Linked DNA regions of Homo sapiens: region 2 is linked to region 1. The links are contacts of gene promoters, found by promoter capture Hi-C in blood cells and fetal thymus (Javierre and others, 2016). All regions are on one chromosome and are shown on one strand. Each heading gives the region's core, a stretch centred on a gene start or on the middle of the fragment in contact. The rest is flanking DNA. Distances are from core to core; before and after follow the strand shown.

The links. The method cuts DNA at HindIII sites, captures the fragments that hold promoters and counts their contacts. A CHiCAGO score of 5 or more calls a contact.
Region 2: a fragment that was not itself captured here is called in contact with the fragment with the promoter of RYK in region 1 in 5 of 17 cell types (activated CD4 T cells, naive CD4 T cells, non-activated CD4 T cells and 2 more); the score reaches 9.2 in activated CD4 T cells.

What each region holds. Positions count from the first base shown.
Region 1 is chr3:134,247,252-134,255,151 of GRCh38, reverse strand. It overlaps RYK (receptor like tyrosine kinase), which reads left to right and starts at 4,293. Exons shown (of 15, transcript NM_002958.4): 1 at 4,293-4,729. The coding sequence starts at 4,498. RefSeq lists a silencer at 4,119-4,938 and an enhancer at 4,274-5,052. The HindIII fragment of the contact is 6,752 bases long and covers 2,802-7,900 here.
Region 2 is chr3:133,656,462-133,664,361 of GRCh38, reverse strand. It overlaps TOPBP1 (DNA topoisomerase II binding protein 1), which reads left to right and starts at 2,421. Exons shown (of 28, transcript NM_007027.4): 1 at 2,421-2,593; 2 at 3,228-3,318; 3 at 5,212-5,346; 4 at 6,421-6,564; 5 at 7,505-7,686. The coding sequence starts at 3,235. It overlaps LOC124909487, which reads right to left and starts at 3,136. Exons shown (of 3, transcript XM_047449438.1): 1 at 3,016-3,136; 2 at 2,329-2,849; 3 at 1,024-1,463. The coding sequence starts at 3,136. The coding sequence ends at 1,314. It also overlaps a transcript of TF not described here. RefSeq lists an enhancer at 1,995-2,064 and a silencer at 2,465-2,634. The HindIII fragment of the contact is 1,121 bases long and covers 1,174-2,294 here.

The DNA.
Region 1 (7,900 bases), core at 3,044-5,543:
GTATATGAGATACTTAACCGCACTAGTGATGAGGGCAATGCAGATTAAACAACAATAAGCTATTTTTCTTTCACTAGACTGTCAACAGCAAAATGAAAAACATTGGCCTATTACCTTGTGTCTCTCATTTATGCCACATTTGGAAATGTATATTTGTAAAATCTTTTGGAAGGCAATTCAGCAGAATCTATCAAAATTAAAACATAACTCCTTTGGACTTGAAGATTCCATTTCAGAGAATCTGTTCTTCTAAATATTTATACATATGCACAAAGATGTATGTGCAAGGATTTGATGTGTATTACCAGAACTGGTAAAATCCATCAGTTCATCCCAACCAAAAGAACACCACAGGGATGCCTCTGTATGCCCTGTCATGAGAACATCCTCGAGATCTCAACTTACTTAGATCAGTCAAAAAAGCAAATCCTGTAGATCACAACTTTTTGTTGTGTTGTCCATTTCTATAAGGCTGAAAAAGAGCACACACATACAATTGTGTGTTTAAACCCATATATGTGTGAGTAACTGCCTAGAGAAAGGGCTCTCAGAACATACATCAAACTGGGCAGTGGGTAAGAGAGACGAGGGTGTGTGTGGAGGGACATATTTATATTTTATTTCACATACTTCTGTGCTGCTTGACTCTTTTACAGTGCAAATGGTTTAATATATTACTTGTGGAAGGAGAAGGTTTATAGAGAGAGCCACATTCCCAACTGCTCCTGGCAAAAGACGAGGCTGATTTCAGGACTTGGAGCCACCCCTTCTCCAACCACCCACCCCCACCCAGCTGAGTGGTTGGGTCAGGTCCATGTTGCTGAGTTGTCTCTGGGTGTCTGTCCTTGCGGGCACCAGGTATTCTCAGCCCACACCAGAGGTCAAACATGGAACACCCATCATCTCTGTGTAGCTTTGACCCCACGCTCCCATCTACCCATCTACCCCATGGCATCTCAAGTCCAAGACTGGCTTTTTAAAGTACAAGTCCTGCTGATGGTATTTCCTGGCCATGCTGAAATATGTCTCCTGGAGGAGGAGAATAAGGTCAACCACTGTGACAAACAAAACCAAGAGTGGAGGGCCAATGTGTGGATTGTGTTGATGACTGTGGCTTTCATTTCCCCAAGGCAAAGAAACCTCAGGAGGCTGTGGTCATGGTTTCTCATTTTCATGCTGAGGCTTTTTGGGAAATTTCAGAAGTTGCCACCCACACCTTGTTAGGGGAGGGAGAGGAAACTTCCTCTTCAGGATGGGCTGGGGATTGTGGGAAGACCTTTGTGTGAGACCAAGTGTCATGCAGAGACAGCAAGAGAGAGACTGGGAATCAATTCCTTCTCCAAGGGTTTAATTAAAGTGTGGGGAAGTTTGCAATCTTATTCAGAAGTTAACATCTGAGCATAGATTTGAAGGAGGTAAGAGATGAAGCCATGTGGGTGTCAGACAGAAGCATTCCAGAGACAGGGAACAGCAGTGCAAAGGCCCTGAGGTAGGATTGTGTCTGGTTTGTTGGAAGAACAGAAAGGAAGCCTTTGTGGTGTGGCAGGAACTAAGGGAGTAGGCGGTGAGCAGAAGATAAGGTCAGAGGGAAGGGAGAAAGGTGGAGAGTGAGAACTACCTTGACATCTTGGAAAGACTTTGCCTTTTATTCTAGGTGAGTTGGGGAACCACTGGTGGTCTGAAAGCCAGAGAGTACATGATCAGGCTGACGTTTAACAGAATGCCTCTGTCTGCTGTGTTGGGAACAGACTGAGCGAGTAAGGGAGAAAGCAGGCAACTGCAGCTGACCAAAAGAGAGACAGGAGAGCTGAGATATTAATGGAGTGACCAGCAGCATCAGAATTACCAGGAGGCTTGGGAAAACAGATTGTTGGGCCCCAGCCCTGGAGCTGCTACCTGTTAGTATGGGCAGTGTCCAAGGAATTTACATTACAAGTTCCCAGGTGATGATACTGCTGGTCTGGGGGCCACACTTTGAGAACTTGTCTTTGTAGAATTTATGAAAACATTTGTTTATCAAAGTTCTCAAGGAAGCACATTGCTCGCTCCTGTGTCCCCAGTGCCTAGCGTGATGCCTGGCACGAGTCTTCATCGAGCTCAGGCTCTGGGCCAGGCTCAGTGCTATTGAATGAGGTTCATGAGGGTCCCAGGTTTGAACTGTTTGGAGGTAACTGGTGATGAAACTTTCACAGGAAGTGGTCATTAAAGGGAAAGGATTCCTTGTAATTACAATAACAACAGGTGTGACACCTACCCAGCGTCTGCCTAGATGTTTTACTTGTATCCCTCTCCAATTAAATCCTGTAAAAGCCCTGGGAGTCGGGCATTATCCCGGGATTTTTATGAATGAGAGAACCAAGGCTTGGAGAGTTTAATTTTCCCAAGACCACAGGATTAACAAGTACCAGAACCCAGCCAGGCCTGAGTGGGAGCTCTCTGCTGTTTACATCATAGGCCGCCTGAAGAAGTCACTGACAAGACCTAGTAATTAAAGAACCTCGAGAAGCTAGGAGTTTCATTCTTTGAGGACTGTGAGCTTTTTTAAAAGTGCAAAGAATATGCCATCCTTTAAAAAAATGCTTCCCATCTGAATTGAGATTCCTGTTCACACAACATGTTTTGAGCCTCCAGCCCTTCCTGGCAGAACCCTGGTAGCAGTGGCTGTCCCAACAGAAGTATTTTTGCTGACTTTTGTGGCTTAAAAGCCTTCTCTGATGGAGCACTTTTCCTCCCCTCTTCCTCTTCTCAGCCTCCTCCGGCAGGATGAAGGGTGTAAGATTTTGTGCTGAGGCGCTGAAGCTTGACAAATTGAGGCCAGCCTATCTCTAAATGGAATCCGTGTATCTTGCTAGGGAGGGAGAAAATCAAGTTCCAGCACTTCCCTCCTTATCAGCCTCTCCTTTTCCCTACCCTTCCCTGAGGATAAAAATAACCGCTTCCCAGGGCCTCACTGCGATGGAGCAACTGTGCCCCGAAGCCAGGCCTAGCTGTCAGAGCAGCTGCTCCCCGAGGCACGGCCCCGCGAGAGCCTTGGGGTCAGGACGGGGGCCTGTCCGCAGGGACGAGGTGTCCCAGGACAGGGCAGGGGCCCTTGGAGCCTCACCAAGAGAGGGGGCACTGGTGCAAGTTTGACCGCGATGGTGGGCGGCTCACAAAAATACATCAGGAGGCCCGGAAGTCCATGCACTGGCTGGCTCCACCGCCTTTAAGTACACGAGGTCTATCTGCAGTTCTTAACCTCTTTGAGGGCACAAGGACTCCCTAGAACAAATGATGACATACCACCTCTCTGTGTGCAATCAAGCATACACACAACACACAGAAACATGGACGTGGACACAAATACGCACGGAGACACATACACTTTTGCACACAGTTTCATATTATTGGAAGGCTGTCGAAGCCTGGTATGGACCACAGATTAACAACCCCAAAGGCAGGTTGATTATAGTGATGCAGAACGATTATAAAAAAAATAACAATTTGGCAGGGCGCGGTGGCTTACACCTGTAATCCCAGCACTTTGGGAGGCCGAGGTCAGTTGATCACGTGAGGTCAGGAGTTCGAGACCAACCCGGCCAACATGGTGAAACCCCGTCTCTACTAAAAATACAAAAAAATTAGTCGGGCATGGTTGCGGGCGCCTGTAATCCCAGCTACTCGGGAGGCTGAGGCAGGAGAATGGCTTGAACCTAGGAGGCAGAGGTTGCAGTGAGCCGAGATCGTGCCAGTGCACTCCAGCTTGGGTGACGGAGCAAGACTTCGTCTCAAAATAAATAAATAAAAATATAAAAATAAATAAAATTTTGTAACGTAAAAATAGGGTTAGTAAAGCGTGCTAAGATCTTTCTGGAAAACAAATATATGTAGTATAAATTCTAATAATAGATACGGAAACGATAAAGTTGATCACCGATGGTAAGATAAAGGATGATTTCTATTTATTTGAGTTTTCCCACTAAACAGGAAAGCATGCTGCTTTTTCGCAACCAGAACGGCCGCATCCAGGCGTTTCCGGGGACCTGGGGCGCCCACTGAGCTGCAGGCGCGGCCGGTGGCTCCAGCCTGGCCCGTCCGTCGGGAAAGGAGGGTTACAGACAATAGACAAGCAAACATTAGACGCAGTGACCGCGTGGGGCGGGGACCGGCTCTTGCGGAGAGGGTGACCCGAGCCCTTCGCCCGCCGAGGCACTTTAAAACCCCAGCGCGTTGCCCAGGCCGGCCCGCCCAGAGCGAAAGGTGCGTGCGCGCTCCCGGGGAGGCGGCGGCGCGCACGGGCGCGTCCCGCGGGCAGCCCCCAACTCCGGACGATGCAGCGAGGAGGCGGCGGCGGCGGCGCGCTCCGGAGGTCTGAAGCCACTGCTGGCTGCCACGGGCCGGCGGTGCGATGAGCTGGGCAGCCGCCCCCGGCTCGGGGCTGTGAGCGGCTCGGGGCCGGGGGTGGGCGGCGGTGCGGCGGGCGGCCGACGCTCCTCTTCGGCGGCGGCGGCGGCGGCCATGCGTGGGGCGGCGCGGCTGGGGCGGCCGGGCCGGAGTTGCCTCCCGGGGGCCCGCGGCCTGAGGGCCCCGCCGCCGCCGCCGCTGCTGCTTCTGCTTGCGCTGTTGCCGCTGCTGCCCGCGCCTGGCGCTGCCGCCGCCCCCGCCCCGCGGCCCCCGGAGCTGCAGTCGGCTTCCGCGGGGCCCAGCGTGAGTCTCTACCTGAGCGAGGACGAGGTGCGCCGGCTGATCGGTGAGTGGGGCCGCCGAGGCCGGGGCGGGCAGGTCGGGCCGGCTGGGGCAGCTTCCGGCCGCCGGCGGATCAGTCTGCGAGCCGTGGACCTCGGGCGAGTACCCTCCCCGCCCCCCGCGCCCGGATTCGCCTCGCGGCCCGGTCTCTGCCTGCCGTGCTGGCTGGGAGGTGTGGTCCCTGCCCGGTCCCCAGCTCTGGGTCAGCCTTCGTGCCGCCCTCGCTGCCCCGCCGCGATAGACCCAGATTCACCCCATCCCATCCTCCTCACTGCCTCCTTAGCCCTTCTCCCTAGAAGAGTCAGTCACCCTTACAACTTTTTTTCCTTGCTGCACGAAGTTTTTTTGACGCTTTCTATGTGTGTCACTCTAGGGCCCTCGATTTTGAATATCTCGAAATTCACGTTTTAGACTGAACTTGCAAACCCTTTGCTGTGGTTTTGATGCTCCAGTAGAGGCCACGCTCTGTGCTTACCCTTTTACAAAAAAAAAAAAAAAAAAAAAAAAAACGAGAGAGAAAGAAGGGGAGGTTATAAGGGCACCAAATGTTCGTGGCAGCCTCCAACTCTTGGGACGTAGATTTGGAGCATATGCTTAGATTCTAAGCATATTTTTAGTGAATGAATCGCCAGGTAGCAGACCTTTTTAGTTTCAATACCTTTTTGGTTTTTGCATTGGGTGTGTTGGGAGTTTGGACTGACTCTGTACTTCTGGGCCACTCTCCTACTTTTGAGTATCTTGAAGGGAAACAAGAACTTAGTCTTGGGTCGGTTTGTGGTTCCATTTACTTGCTTAGCTTTGTTGTTTGGGGAATTAATTTGAAAAATTGCTGGGGTCTTATGTTAGGACTTTGTGGATTCTGGAAATGACCCCTTAGAGGAAGATCTGACAGGAACGACCCCCCAAAAAGGAAGTCCTTGGTACCTAGACGTTTGCATTCTTTTGTTATTATGGCAGTATCTTTATTTCATCTGAAGGTGGTGCTTCTGAGTGTTTGAGGGGAAAAATTATTCTCTATTGCATCCATTATTTGTCAGTATTCTATTTTTTTTTAAGTAATAAGACTTTGTTGAGGTGTGTTGAGATTGACTCAGTGTAGAAATGGAATTACTGAAAGCAGACTCTTTAGACATTACATGTACGGATTTGCAGTTTTTAGCCAAAGAAGAATGCTCTTTTTATGAAGTCGTGCTCATTCTTAATCCTTCTTAGTCTAGCTGAGTTAGCTGAATGTAGTTTAGCTGAATTAAAACTCTACTTGGGGTAGTACTTGGAACACAAGACTAAGATTTAGGAAAAATAATACAAGACGACTCATATCACATTAATTTTAGAAATATTAACGTATTATGCATGGTTTTGTAAAGGCTTTTTGGTTAAAAGCACTTATATAGCTTGTGACTTTGTTTACATGGGTAAACAAAGTCAGAGGTGTAGGTAGGAGACAGAAGACAACCAGGGACTGACATTGAATTCCTGCCATATACCTGCCCCTACATGCTTTATACACATAATTTCTTCTAATTTTCTCGGGGCCCAGTGAGGTAGGTGGCATTATGCCTATTGTAGAGATGAGGAAAGTGGGGTTTTAAAGTAACTTGCTCAAGGTCACACAGTTAATTTTTTTTTAGACGGAGTCTCGCTCTTGTCACCCAGGCTGGAGTGCAGTGGCGTGATCTCGGCTCACTGCAATCTCTGCTTCCTGGGTTCAGGTGATTCACCTGCCTCAGCCTCCCAAGTAGCGACCACTTCTGGCTATTTTTTGTATTTTTAGTAGAGACAGGGTTTCACCATGTTGGTCAGGCTGGTCTTGAACTCCTGAGCTCGTGATCTGCCCGCCTCGGCCTCCCAAAGTGCTGGGATTACAGGTGTGAGCCACCGCACCTGGCCTAGTTCATATTTTTGAAAAAAATGAAACAGTGTTGACATAGGCTGCAAAGTTTTATCGAATGAAATGAAGATTTTGTCTGTAGAAGTTTGATTATGTCATGGTGGAAAATAAATCATTGCTAATTAGCACTTGAGTTATATATTTGTTACCTTATTCAAAGGTTGGCCTGGAACTAATTTTCTTAGCAGTATTTGCAGCAGAGGAAGCTCCTGTTTGATGAGCATCCAATTTATGCCCAGAAATGCTGTTGCTGGGAGGGTAGGAAGCATTGTTTCAATTAACTCCCTTGTCTATCCCCGGGGGCGAGAGAGACTTCTAGTAGTATTTTCTCTAGTGCAAATAGGGTTGACCTGTTACAGAGGATCTCTAGTCACTCCATCCTGCCAGATTCAGGTTCGTTGTTTCCATCCCTTCCCATCTCCCTCATACATTCTACCTTTAAAATAATTCCTTGGCTCCTCCAGGTAGGGAAGAGCCAAGTGGGTAGGACTGAGATGTGTACTGAGATGTGTACAAGGCACTCCGAATTCTCAGAATGCAGTCTCTCACAGAAGCTGTTATGGTACTTAAGGCTTCTTGGAATAGTAGCTTTGCACCGTATTTTAGAATCACTACAGATTTTGTGCCTTCTGAACGCTGGCATAGGAAACGAACCATTATTTTATAATATTTTTAAGACAGTTTAGAGTTCCAAGTAAGAAACTTATAAATGAAGTTGATAGTGACAACTTTATAAATTGAACTAATTACCCTTGATATGAGAATAAATTGTTTTAATCCAGTTAATATATGCATATAGTTTTAAGAGAACCAAAAGGCTTTTTTTTTTTTTTGAGACGGAGTTTCGCTCTTGTTGCCCAGGCTGGAGTCCAATGGTATGATCTTAGCTCACCGCAACCTCTGCCTCCAAGGTTCAAGCGATTCTCCTGCCTCAGCCTCCCCAGTAGTTGGGATTACAGGCACGCATTACCATGCCCAGCTAATTTTGTATTTTTAGTAGAGACGAGGTTTCTCCATGTTGGTCAGGCTGTTCTCAAACCCCCAACCTCAGGTGATCACCCACCTCAGCCTCCCAAAGTGCTGGGATTACAGGTGTGAGCCACCGCATCCGGCTTAAAAGACTTTTGACAAACACAGCAGGCTCTTGCTTTTGTCTTTTTTATCCCTCAGGCTCTACTTTCCAGGGGTAGCTACTACCTCAGCTAGGTCTGTTTATTTTTTCTTCCTCTTTTTTTACTTTCGTCATTCTAAATCAATGTAGAATAAGTCTTTGACTTTCTAGTA
Region 2 (7,900 bases), core at 485-2,984, 590 kb after region 1:
CAACAGTGAGACTCCGTCTCAAAAAAAAGAAAAAAAAAGTACATGGGAGTATGTGCACAGGTTATATATAAGGTACTTGAGCATCTTCAGATTTTGTTATCTGTAGGGGGCCTTGGAATCAATCCTCCGTGGATACTAACCATTTCACCCTTTCCTGAAGGACTGCTGTTCAAGCAAACTTTAATGTGTACCAAAATCACCTGAAGGGCACAGATTGCTAGCCCTACCCCAAGTGCTCCTGACTTAATAAGTCTGAAGTGGAGCCCAAGAATTTTCATTCCCCCAAAATTCCCAGGAGATGCCGATGCTGCTGGTCCAGACACTACACATCAGAACCACTGCTTTATCCATTTTCCAGGAGTAGATACTAGAGACAGACCCTCTCTGCTTATCTGGAGACACAAGATGGGAGAACTTGCCCCCTAGTGGTGAACTCTTACTCTAAAGACAGGTCACTCCTCTGGTATCAAGTTCCGGCTGGGTAAAAGCTAAAGGGTGCATTTTCTTCATCTTCATTAGCAGCATCTATGAATCTCCTTCTCTTGTGAGGTCTCTACTTGGCCCAGAAATGCCAGGAATGGGCTCCCTCCCCGGTGTGGAACTTCACACAGAGATGGGCAGACAGCACGTGCCCAGGAGCAGTGTGGTGTGTCAGGAAAGGCACGGGCAAGTGACACAGTCCCTGAACTTCACTTTCCCCATCTCCATAACATGAGACAATGATACCCATCTATTATAGGGTTGCTGAAAAGAGTAAACGGGAATAGTGTGAGCAGGAGTCCCATGTTAACTGTAAAGTGCCCTAGAAATATTAATTGTTATTACAGATTCAGGTCAGATTTGCACCTTAACAATTAACTGTGGTTTCTTTTTTTTCCCACCTCTAGTGATTTTTGTTTTTTTGCTTTTAAGGCTTTCTTCACCCTTCCCCCAGCAATAGGCCTTTACCTTTGAGCCCCAGTGTTAATTGATTCTGACTCATTTCTGGTAAAAAAAAAAAAAAAAAAAAATTAATGATATTTATTAAAGCACAGTAAGACAGATTTTATTCCGGACCATCAGGATAGGTATAGCAACCATGGCAATGGGATTCTGAATTAGGAGAGAGAGAGTGGGCTCAACTCTAAATACACCATGGGCAAGTGGGAATTTATAGCCAAGGAACAAAAAGCTTGGGGTCACTGGATAAAAAATTACTAAGAAGGAACTTCAGGAGTAAAGGGGTTTCTTGCTGAAAATAGGTCAAGGTGATCAGACATCACCTTGGATGGTAGAGGATGAGGAACCTGATCAGATATTGAGGGTAGAGGGTTCTAACTGGATTTTCCAAGGAAATGCACAGATAAACCTACGAGAAGGTTGAGGAGTCTGACTAAAGTTTGGCCAAGCAAAGAATCTTTGTCACCTTCCATCGGTGTATTCAAAAACTTAAGACTCAAGCTGCTCATTACTATCTTTAGGCTCTAAAAAGAAAAGAAAAACAAAAACAATCAAGGGACATGGCATTATACTTTTACATTAGTAAATCCAAAGTCATTTTCTCAATCTCAGCAGTGAATAATAAAATGATCCTCATTAGTATAGTGGCTAGATTTTATAAAATAAGAAAAAATTTTTTTAAAAAAGAATAAAATGAAAAGAAGCAACAACGAATCAGTTTTCCGCTGGTTATCACTAAGGTTTGCAGGCCCATCTTATCCCCTCTCCCTTTGCTCTCTGCCATCTGAATCTTAGGTTCAGTCCCAGAATCTCCCCAGTACTGAGGCAGATGCAGAGAAAGAGAACGGCGATGTCCACTGAAGGGGAGGAGGAGGGGAGACCATTGAAGATCTTGACAAAGATCCCTTTGCATTAGCTGTGTAATAAGTCATCCTTTCTTCCCTTGCCATCTTGTGGCTGTGTTAGGCGGTGATTCTATTCCTGCTGTGTTGGAGGGAAACCACCCAGTCCGTAGTCAGAAGACCTGGATGCAGTATTAATTCTACCACCTACTAGCCGTGTGCCCTTGAACCCATCATTTAACTTCCTCCGTTTTTACATCTACAAAATGGAACTACCACTATTTGCCTCACGGAATTGTTTTGGATAATACCTTTTCCCGTGCATGCCTGGTATAAGACAGGTGTAAAATAAATATCTATTGAGGAAATCCTTTCTTTCCCTGGCTTTTTTAACAGTAAAGGAGTATTCCTGGCCTGTGGTCCTACCTCTTGAACCGACGGCGCTGGGCCTACTCGCAGCGGAGACTAGGCCCGCCCAGCAAAGCCCTAAACCCAAAGGGTCCGGCCCAAGCTTTCCCTGAAGCCCCACCGCCCACAGACTGCTCACCTCCACGTTTGACATTTCCGCTCTTCTGCTGCAGCTGCCGATGGCGTCACTTCCACCGGAAAAGGCAAGCGCGGCCGCGCGGTTGGCGCGAAAGTCGGTTCCCGTTCTGGGCAATTTCCGGGTTCTCCAGCGTTTGCTTTGGGGTAGGGGCGGCGCCGAGTCGGGGGAGGGGGCTGTGCGCCGGGCTGGCGCCCGACCCCAGCCACCGCCCTGCGGCCAGCGCGTCCCCCGACTCGCCGCCCGGAGACCCCGAGGCTCCAACGAGGTAAGTGAGGCGCGGAGTGGGGACACAGCTCCTCCCCAGCCCCAACTGGGGTTCGCGATGCCTTCTGTGGCCTTCAGGACCCTCTTTTCCTGTCCTGGTAACTGGCCCTGGAGCCGGCGGGTGGGCCTTTGACGCCGAGAGGACGTGGCTTCCGTGATCCCAGAGCCAGGCCTTTTCCTGGAGATGGGAACCGGAGCATCTAGCCTTATGCAGGGCCAAGACCATGCTAACTGGCTTCCATGTTTATATTTAAAATCTGTTTACTGAGGGATGAACGTACCTCGCAGGCCGTGGGTATCCGCAGGGACAGATACACTCTGTGTATCCTTAAAACAAGTGCAATTGAATGTCCATTGGCCTAAAGGGCTTAGAGCCTTCATAGCAGGGCCTTCCTCAGTGTATTCAATTCGGGTTAATTTTGCTGTCTGATTTGCAAGGATTGGTGTTGTCATCTTTTACCTTGGCTTTGTCCAAGTTCCAGGATTTCTTAGAAATGCCGTTGACGAATTCACGGGCAGAGCCAGAATGTCTGTCTTTAGGCATTCTTGTCTGCACAGAAAAATAGGTAGGTTAAACATGCAACTTTTTATCTAATGTGGTTTTGTTCTTGTTAATGGTTCCTTTATTTTGACAGTTCAGAAATGTCCAGAAATGACAAAGAACCGTTTTTTGTGAAGTTTTTAAAGTCTTCAGACAATTCCAAATGTTTTTTTAAAGCTCTCGAGGTAAGAGTTGAAAACATCTTAATACCGTGAATTCATTTTCTTGTTTTTAAGTGTTTTTGATTTGTTGGGCTTTATGTCTTAGAAGTAGATATTTCACTTTCATAATAATTTTATAGTCTACATTAATACAGATATATCATTATCACATATTTTTGAATTGATCTAAGTACATCATTATGTATTTCGGGGGGCTGGAAGTCTATTATCACATTGCTGTTTAATATGGCTGACCTACAGTTCTTGGAAATTAAGTTGCTTTCATTTGTCTCCTAGCCAGAGTGGTCCTTTGCGTGCTGTAGAAATTTGAGTCAGTTGTGTACTGGTCATACTTGAAAATTTTTTGGTTAATTGTTAAAAATTATGTTTTATTATGTACAGTATAATAATTGGATGATAGTAGGGGTGATGTAGATCCTTGCTTCTCACAGAACCCAGCAGTATCAGCATGGCCTGGAAGTTTCTTCGAAATGCAGAATCTTGGCCTCCAACCCAGACTTAGAATCTGCATTTCTAACAAGATCTTCAGTGTGCATTAAAGTTTGAGAAGCATTTGTAGCAGATTTTTTTAAACTTCATTCATTCAGCAAGTATTTATTGAAGTGTTCATGATTTGATAGGCACTTCTCTAGTACTTGGGATTTATCAGTGATGAGAACAGGCAAAGATTTCTGTTCTTTCAGAGCTTACATTCTAGCAGGAGGACATAGACACTAATCAGACATGATAAATTAGGAAGAGAAAAAAGCAAAACACGTTAAGGGGTTCCAGAGGATGTTTCTTGGGGTGGGAAGAGAAGGGGGTTATAATCTTAAATAGGGTGTGATCAGGGTAGGCTTTATGAAGAAAAAGATATTGAGTAAACGTGAAGGAGGTGAGATAGCCTTGCAGATATCTGGAGAAGAATGTTGCAGGCAGAGAGAGCAACCTTATACAGCCCCTGGGAAAGTGCCTGTAGTCTCTATCCAAGTTTAGTGTACTGTTGTGTAGTGAGTGAGGGATGGGGGAAGAGTACTAAGGAATGCGTTAGAGAATAATGGTAAAGAGGTCATGTAGGGCCTTGTGGGCCATTTTTCTCTCAGTGGAGAGCCATTGGAGGGTTGATAATCAGAAGAGTAAACATGATCTGACTTACAGTTTTAAAGGGATTACTGTATTTAACATAAGGACCTCAAAATTGGTTCAGAACATTTCTGAGTGCTTACTGGGTGTCAGGATATAGTAGCAAACAAGATACATAGAAACTTCCAGGGGAGAGAGACAAAAACTATATATATATATATAAATACGTATTTTTAAATAGAATAGACTAGAAGGGTAGAGGAAGGGTATTTGAGAAAGCCTGATTAGGATGGGCATCTCTGGGGAGGTGACATTTAAGCAGACCTGATTGAAGTGGGGGATTAAGTCAGGTGAAAACCTGGAAAAAAAGTATTCTGTGCTGCAAGATCAAGAGCAGAGCCTCTAAATGAGGTTATGGTTGGCTTGTTCCAGGGTTGGCAAGAAAGCGGGAGTGGCTGGAATAGAATAAGCAAGAGAGATGAGAAGTAGGAGGTAAAGGTGGAAAGATAGGCAGGAAACCAGACTGTGTTGTCTTGAAGGCTGTAGTAAGAAATGTGGATTTTATTCTGGGTGTGGTGTGAAGACATTAGGTTTTGAGCAGATAGTGACATGATCTGACTTGTGTTTTTGAAAAGATTATTAGCTGCTGTGTAGAGAACAGATTTAGGGCAAGGAAGGGAAAAAGAGACCACTTGGGAGCCTTCTGCAGAGGTCTAAGTGAGATGTGATGGTGGCTTTCAATAGGGAAAAGGCTGGATTTGAGATGGAATTTGAATAGGACCTAAATACAGGAGAGTAATTTCAGGTACATTCTTATTTTATTTTTTCTTTCAGTCCATAAAAGAATTCCAATCAGAAGAATATCTTCAGATTATTACAGAAGAAGAGGCATTGAAGATAAAGGAGAATGATAGATCACTTTATATCTGTGACCCTTTTAGTGGCGTTGTCTTTGATCACCTCAAAAAGGTTTGCTGACTTCTAGTGTGTACCTTTGGTAGTCTATTTTTTGGTTTATCTTTGCTTTAATGGACATACATTCTTTGCGGATTATAAAGTACTATGCAACTTATGAGTACATTGGAATTCTTTTGGTTTGGCAAGACCAGGATTGAAAGGCTAATTATGTTACAGTAGGCTTTTTTTGTTTGTTTGTTTGTTTTTGTTTTTGTTTTTTGGAGACAGAGTCTTGTTCTGTTGCCCAGGCTTTAGTGCAGTGGCACAAGCTCAGCCCACTGCAACTTCTGCTTCCTTGGTTCAAGTGATTCTTGTGCCTTAGCCTCCTGAGTAGCTGGGATTACAGATGTATATACACACCCGGCTGATTTTTTTATTTTTAGTAGAGAAAGGGTTTCTCGATGTTGGCCAGGCTGGGCTGGTCTTGAACTCCTGCACTCAAGTGATCCTCCCACCTCAGCCTCCCAAAATATTGGGCTTATAGATGTAAGCAGTAAGGCAGTTTTCAGTGAAAGGGGCTTTTGAAGTTTATTTCTTTTCTTTTCTTTTTTTTTTTCTTTTGTTATAGGGTCTCACTCTGTCGCCCAGGCTGGAGTGCAGTGACGTGATCTCAGCTCACTGCAACCTCCGCCTCCTGGGTTCAAGCAATTCTCTTGCCTCAGCCTCCCTAGAGACTGGGACTGCAGGTGCCCGCCACTGCACCCGACTAATTTTTGTATTTTTAGTAGAGACGGGGTTTCACCATGTTGGCCAGGCTGGTCTCGAACTCCTGACCTCAGGTGATCCACCCCCGCTCGGCCTCCTCTGAAGTGCTGGCATTACAGGCGTGAGCCACTGTGCCTGGCCTGAAGTTTATTTCTTTTGATAGCTTGCATTGTTTGATTTGCTTTTGTGTGTGAGTGTTTAATGTATAGTATCTCTGAGAAATTATATAGTCATCTTTATTTTTTTCTTGTAATGATTTGCTGATTTCTCTACAGTGGTCATCAACTTTGGTAAAGAATTGGTGAATGTTACAAAATGTAATTTTGTAAGACTGGTGGTCTTTTCCTTCTTAACTCATTTAAACTTTTCTCTTTTTTGTAGCTTGGCTGCAGAATTGTTGGTCCTCAAGTAGTCATATTTTGTATGCACCACCAGCGATGTGTCCCAAGAGCCGAACATCCAGTTTATAATATGGTTATGTCTGATGTAACCATATCTTGTACAAGTCTGGAAAAAGAAAAAAGGGTAGATATTGATCTCATGATGATTGATCAATTTATATATCTATCTCTTATTCTTAATTTTTCACTGCATAGAAGATAGCTTAAAAGACTTTCCGCTTATTGTTCGTGACTTTTAACAAAGTTCAGTATACAACCACAGTGTGTATATATGTATACATGTACATTTTTTAAGTAAATTGAATATAGTAGAATTTGTTTTGTTGAAAACTGGCTAATTGAAATTTTTTGTTTTAATTTAAAAGGACACTCATTTTTTAATCACTTACATTTTTCCACTATAGGTGGACAGTCTTTAAAAAAAAGGATTCTAAATCGTTTGAATCAGGGAGGTGGAGGTTGCAGTGAGCCAACATCACGCCACTGCACTGCAGCCTGGGTGACAGAGCAAGATTTCGTTTTGGAAAAAAAAAAAAAAAAGCATTCTAAGAGAGAGCTATAGAAATACATATATATATTTGGGACAGGGTCTTACTGTCACCCACGCTGGAGTGCAGTGGCACAATCACAACTCACTGCAACCTTGATTTCCTGGGCTCAAGTAATCTTCATGCCTCAGCCTCCCGAGTAGCTGGAATTACAGGCATGCACCACCAAGCCTGGCTAAAAATAAATATTTATATATTATATAGATATAATTTATGTTGTTAAAAATACACATGTATATTTATATAGAAGCAAAGATTAAGATTTATACATCCTTTGTATAATAGTTTAATACATTCATGGAGTTGAAAGGGATAAATATAGGAAAATAATATTTTAAAAATATAATTCATACTTATCTCCCAAAAAATAATTTGGTTAATTATTTAACTTTATAATGTTATGTAACACTTATGTATTCAAACTGTCAACAGCAAAATGTATTTATGAGATAGTGTATAAAAGTGGAAGCAATATTGTTTGCTTCAGCATTAATGTGTTCTCTTTTGGGGCTGCAGGAAGAAGTTCATAAATATGTACAAATGATGGGCGGACGAGTATACAGAGACCTTAATGTATCAGTAACTCACCTTATTGCAGGAGAAGTTGGTAGCAAAAAATATTTAGTTGCTGCAAACCTGAAGAAACCTATTTTGCTTCCCTCTTGGATAAAAACACTTTGGGAGAAGTCACAAGAGAAGTAAGAAAGACATTTTTATATTTTCTAGATTTGAAAAAATGATGCATTCAATCATTTTTGGCATGTGATATACTCTTTGGACTTACTATTCAGGGAAAAAAATAGTGTCATTACTCTTTTCTCCAGCGAAAACGGAAGAGCAGAATCTACAAGCTCTTATTACCAAGATATAAGTTGACAGGCATAGAATGGGCCAAGGGTTTAGCATTAGCTA